Regions from separate parts of the Homo sapiens genome. Here region 1 is linked to region 2. Evidence: promoter capture Hi-C in 16 types of primary human blood cells and fetal thymus (Javierre and others, 2016). All regions are on one chromosome and are shown on one strand. The core of a region is centred on a gene start or on the middle of the fragment in contact, and the rest is flanking DNA. Distances in the headings are between cores, read along the strand shown.

The links. Contacts are between HindIII fragments. The CHiCAGO score rates a contact against its expected background, and 5 or more counts as called.
Region 1: a fragment that was not itself captured here is called in contact with the fragment with the promoter of TRIB3 in region 2 in 1 of 17 cell types (total CD8 T cells); the score reaches 5.6 in total CD8 T cells.

The regions. Positions count from the first base shown.
Region 1 is chr20:644,528-647,441 of GRCh38, reverse strand. SRXN1 (sulfiredoxin 1) reads left to right here. Exons shown (of 2, transcript NM_080725.3): 2 at 1-827. Among named protein-coding and RNA genes, the nearest start is that of SRXN1, 7.2 kb to the left of the region's middle. The HindIII fragment of the contact is 1,157 bases long and covers 875-2,031 here.
Region 2 is chr20:379,410-382,113 of GRCh38, reverse strand. TRIB3 (tribbles pseudokinase 3) reads right to left here and starts at 1,354. Exons shown (of 4, transcript NM_021158.5): 1 at 945-1,354. RefSeq lists an enhancer at 1-235 and silencers at 1-510, 781-890, 911-1,070. The HindIII fragment of the contact is 2,528 bases long and covers 1-1,956 here.

The DNA.
Region 1 (2,914 bases), core at 204-2,703, 270 kb before region 2:
AGAGCAAATCACAAGGCTTTACCCAGATTCAAGGGATGAGAAACAGACTACATGTCTTGATGAGGGGAACCACAAAGAGCTTGTGGCCATTTTTCACCTATCACAAATAATTTTGGATGGGTATTTATTTGGATAAAGGTATTTCCCTCTTCCCCCTTTCTCTCTGTCTCATGGGGCCTCACTCTGCCAAGTTGGAAGGCACTAAGACATTGTCCTGGCCCTCAGGGTCTAGGGGAAGAGGTGTTGGGGCAGGAAGTGAGTCTCTCCATGGGCTGGACCCACTGTAGTAGGAGTGCCTCCTTGTCTGCACTGCTGGTATGGGGTTAGGCCAGGTAGGACATTCCAGAGGGGCTTCTGAAAACCAAGAGTCCCTGGGGAAAGGGAACAGAGTAAGGCAGGCCTTGTTCTCACTGCCCTCTAAGGGAACTTGGTCACTCGGCACTTTTAAGCCTCAGTTTCTCCAGTTCAATAATAAGGACAAGAGCTTTTCCCATGCATTCTCTTTCCCCGGGAAAGTTGACTGAGGTGACCAGTAATAGAATTGAAAAGGGAGAGTGTCTTCAGTGCAATGTGGCATCCTGGATTGGGTCTTGGAACAAAAACAGGACATTAGTGGGAAAATTGGAAATCTGAAAAAAGTCTGAATTTTAGTTAATATACCAATTTCAGTCTCTTGGTTTTGACAGATGTACCATGGTGATGTAAGATGTTGACCTTGGGGTAGGCTGGGTGAAGGGTATACAGGAACTCTTTGTACTATCTCTGCAACTTCTCTGTAAATCTAGTATCATTCCAAAATAAAAGTTTATTTAATTTAAAAAAAAAAAGGGGGGGTGTGCAATTCCTTTAGACCAATGGTTCAGGGTCTCAAGCTTGTTTGCTAAATACCAGATTGCTGGGCCCCACCCCCACTTTCTTTTTTTTTTGAGACAGGGTCATGCCCTGTCACCCAGGCTGGAGTGCAGTGGCACGATCATGACTCACTGCAGCCTTGACCTCCCGGGGCTTAAGTGATCCTCCCACGTCAACCTCCTGAGTAGCTGGGACTACAGGTGCGCCCTTCTCATTTTTTTGTAGAGACAGGGTTTTGCTGTGTTCTCTGGGCTGGTCCTAAACTCCTGGGCACAAGCGATTCTCCCGCCTCAGCTTCCCAAAGTGCTGGGATTACAGACATGGCCACTGCCCCCGGCCCCCCAGAGTTTCTGATTGAGGCGAGTTGGGGCAGGGCCTGATAATTTGCTTTTCTAACAAGTTCCCAGATGTTGCTGATGCTGCTGTTCAGGGACCACATGCTAAGAGCTGCTAATAACTGCGTCAGTTATTTTCAAATACGGTGACTTCCCCACTTCCATCCCCAGTGGAATGAGTCTACTCATTCCCCCCAGCTTGTCTACTCATTAACTGTGTGACCTTGGGCGGTTCTGTCCCTTCCCTGGGGACTTCTTCCAGGCTGTCAAATGGATTGTGTACCCCTAAGGTTTGTAGCGAAGGTGAGGTGCCCCTGTCTTCTGTGAGTAAACTCCTCCTGTGCCCGCTGGGCTGGAATGAGAGTGAAGATGGTCGCCCCCTCCTGAAACAACTTTTCCTTCTTGCAGAGAAGACCCAACCAGACAGCGCTAAGGGCCCTGCCAGGCACTGCGAAGGAGGTGCAGAACAGATTCGGAGTAGAGGGGTACTGCTTGATCATTTAAGGAAGAGGAGCTGGGTTTTAAAGGGTGTAACCTGCTGGTAGCCGGAAGTTGCGTTTCCCTCTTACAGCAGCAGGTGGCGCTGCTCTCCGGCCCCCGCGGCAGGGCCGTCCCTCTGGCCTGCAAGAGCTACAGCTGTGGGAAGGGGCTGGATGCACGCGCAGGGCTGAAAGAGGCGGGATAGTTAACCCGGGTTCAGCCGGGATGAGTCTGGAGTTCAGGTTCTATTTATCAGCTCTTGTTCTGTAACCTTGCGCACATGTCTACCCATTCCTGTCTATACTGGGGGTGCTGGGCCAGAGAATCTCAGGCTCAGCAAAGGTGGTACCTCCTCCAAGAAGCTTCTGGGCTCCTACTGGCTGGGCTACCATGACCTACAGTGTCCCTCCCCAAAAAAACCTCTGCCCCCAGGAACTTGGCTCCAGTGAAAGGCAGTATGTGCCTTCACCGCCCTGGAACCCACCCACTTGACCGTGGTAGATTTAAATTTCCTTTTTTTTTTTTTTTTTGTTTTCATTTCACAAGGCTTTTTGTTGTTGTTGTTTTAGTAGAAATGGGGTTTCACCATGTTGGCCAGGCTGACCTTGAACTCTTGGCCTCAGGTGATCTGTCCGCCTCGGCCTCCCGAGGCACTGGGATTACAGGTGTGAGCCACCATGCCCAGCCATTTCACAAGTTTTATATAAGTATATTTACTTTTTAAAATGTGTTTGTTCGTTTGTTTGTGATGGGGTTTTGCTCTGTTACCAAAGCTGGCACGCAATGTTCTGATTATAGCTCACTGCAACCTCAAACTCCTGGGCTCAAGCCATCCTCCTGCCTCAGCCTCCCGAGTAGCTAGGACTACAGGCACCACCACACCCAGCTAATTTTGTTTTTAACGTTTTATAGAGACCAGGTCTTGCTCTGTTGCCTGGGGTGGTTGGTCTCCAACTCCTGGCCTCAAGTGATCCTCCCGCCTTGGCCTCCCAAAGTATGATATTACAGGCATGAGCCACTGCATTCAGCCATATTTACCGTTTAAACATTAAAATATTAAAATGTTAAATAATTAAATATTAGAAATTTAAAGTATTAGAGGCAAGCGGAAGCCCACCACAAAACCTAGTCCTGATTATTCCTTTGCCCTCTTGGGACAGTTACCTTTATGAATTTGGCATAGAGCCTCCCAGACTCTTATCTAATTTAATAGTAATGAATGTGCGTTTAAGTAAAAAATGTTTTCT
Region 2 (2,704 bases), core at 105-2,604:
CACACACACACACAGCCCTCCCAGCTGTCACACCCATGGTCTACCCGAGCAAGGCCGCACCCCCACCCCGCCCCGCCCCCCGCAGCCAGGCCCCTCCCGTGGGAGCCCAAGCGAAAGGCGGCGGGTGTCCGAGTCAGAAGTTTCAGCGGAAATTGAAGCGCGGCCCTGGGACAGGAGGGGGGTGAGGCAGAGGGAAGGAGGTGGCTGTCGTCCCCCGCCCTCCCCGGTCTGCAGGCACAGCACACACCGCAGACACGCGCGCACCGTCCACCTGCAAACCCGGAGCCGCGCACTGGGGAGAACCAGCGGCCCTGCCGGGCCAGAGATCGCGCGCTGCGCCCCCGCTCCCACTCCCTCGGCTCCCCCGCTCCAGGGCACCCCAGCCCTGTCCCGGCGGTGTCCCCTGCACCGCCAACCCCTGCCACCAAGTGCCCAGCCCTCCAGACAGCTCTCACCATCTCCTGAGACACAGGTGCTCGGGACCCACCCTCACCCAGGACTCTCCCCTGCGGGTTCACGAGGACCCCCTCGGATCCCCCGCCACCCCCAGAGTCCTCCAGTGCCCCCCACAAGCCCCTCACCGCACCACACGACTCCCCTATCCCGCACTCACGCAAAACAGACCCCCGCACGCCCTCCTCTAGGGGTGACGGCCGGACACCTCCGTCCCTGGCTTCCCCAGCCCAACTCGGGCGACCCCACGCTCCGCGGGGCCGCGTCACCTGAAGCCCGGGGGGAGCACTCAGCCCAGGCCCGGATCAAAAGGGATCTGACCTGGCCGCGCCCCGACGGCGGGGTCTGTGAAAAGGTGTGTAAGGGGCGTGCGTGCGTGTAACACGCGGCAACACGCAGACGCCCAGAGGCTTCCGGCGCCCCCTTCCCCGGCCGCCCCCTCCCGCCCCCCGGCCTCCGGGCGAGTCCGCAGGCCGCACCCCGCCGAGTACCTCGCCCCGTCGTTCCGCGTGGGCCCGGGCGCCGCCGGGGCTCAGAGCCTCCAGGGCACCAGCAGGTGGGCCGGCCCGCTGCGCTGCTGCCGAGCTCGGGATCCCAGCCCAGCTCCAGCCCTGCCCGGGTCCTAGCAGCGGACGCGCGCGGAGCCGCCTCCACTTCCGCTGCGAGTCTCGTGCGCGCCCGGCCCCCGGTCCGGGTGATGCAAACCGGAGCTAATCCCCCGGTCCGGGTGATGCAAACCGGAGCTAATCCCCCGGTCCGGGTGATGCAAACCGGAGCTAATCAGCCGCCGTCTGATGCCCTCGGGCCCGGGATCGCACCATCCCCCGCGCCGCGCCCGGGCCTCTCTCCTCTGCATCCGCTGCACCTGGGACCCGCCCTCGCTGGCCCCCTAGGGGCGTCTGGTCAGTGCAGACATCAGCCACGGACTCTCCCTATCACCTTGGAAAAAAAATTTGCTCTTTTTTTTTTTTTTTTTGAGACAGAGTCTTGCTCTGTCGCCCAGGCTGGAGGGCGGTGGCGCGATCTCGGCTCACTGCAAGCTCCGCCTCCCGGGTTCACGCCATTCTCCTGCCTCAGCCTCCCGAGTAGCTGGGACTACAGGCGCCCGCACCACGCCCGGCTAATTTTTTGTATTTTTAGTAGAGACGGGGTTTCACCTTGTTAGCCAGGATGGTCTCGATCTCCTGACCTCGTGATCCACCCGCCTCGGCCTCCCAAAGTGCTGGGATTACAGGCGTGAGCCACCGCGCCCGGCCAAAAATTTGCTCTTCTGAGCCTCGGTTTCCCCACCTATGAAATGGGAAGAACATTCCTCCTTCTCAGGATGGTGCTTAAAAGAGCAAACAGTGACTGTTGTCGGGGTGCTTCCCCTTTTTTATAAAGCACATTCCCAGCACTGCCTTATAAAACCTTTAGGAGAAGTGGACATGCGGGAATCTCCATTCTCCACATTCTACTGAGAGCCAGCCTGAGGCCCAGCTATGGGCAAGTGGTTCAGAAGCTTCAGGAAGGCCTATGGACTTAAGAGCTGACTCTGGGCTCAAAGGAACCACCGTGGCGCCCTTGGGAGGCCTAAGGTCTGCTGAGCTTCCCCGCGTCCCTTTGCTAGAGGCAGTGCGGCCTAGTGGTGAAGAGCCCCTAGAGCCAGCTGGCCTAAGAGTGCACTCCACCTCCGCTCCAACCCACAGTGCTACCCCAGAAAAGCTACCTAAAACCCTGCCTCAACTTCCTGCTCCATAAAATGGGCTCATAATTGCGCTCACTTCATAAAGTTGTTGTGAGGATTAAATAATTTAATATGTGTAAGACGCTTAGAACAGTGTGTGGCACATTGCGGATGCTCAGTGGAGTGTAAACAATGGAGACAGAGAGGGAAAGAGGCCTTTAATATGCTTGCACCCAAGGCCTGGGAGGGCTTGGTGCTACTTGATTTGGGGTGAAACACCCCTCTGCGTCCTAGGCGTCCAGCACCTTTCTTTTTTTTTCTTTTTTTGAGGCAGAGTTTCACTCGTTGCCCAGGATTGAGTGCGATGGCACGATCTCGGCTCACTGCAACCTCCACCTCCCGGGTTCAAGCGATTCTCCTGCCTCAGCCTCCCAAGTAGCTGGGATTACAGGCATGCGCTACTATGCCTGGCTAATTTTGTATTTTTAGTAGAGACAGGGTTTCTCCATGTTGGTCAGGCTGGTCTCGAACTCCTGACCTCAGATAATCCACCTGCCTCGGCCTCCCAAAGTGCTGAGATTACAG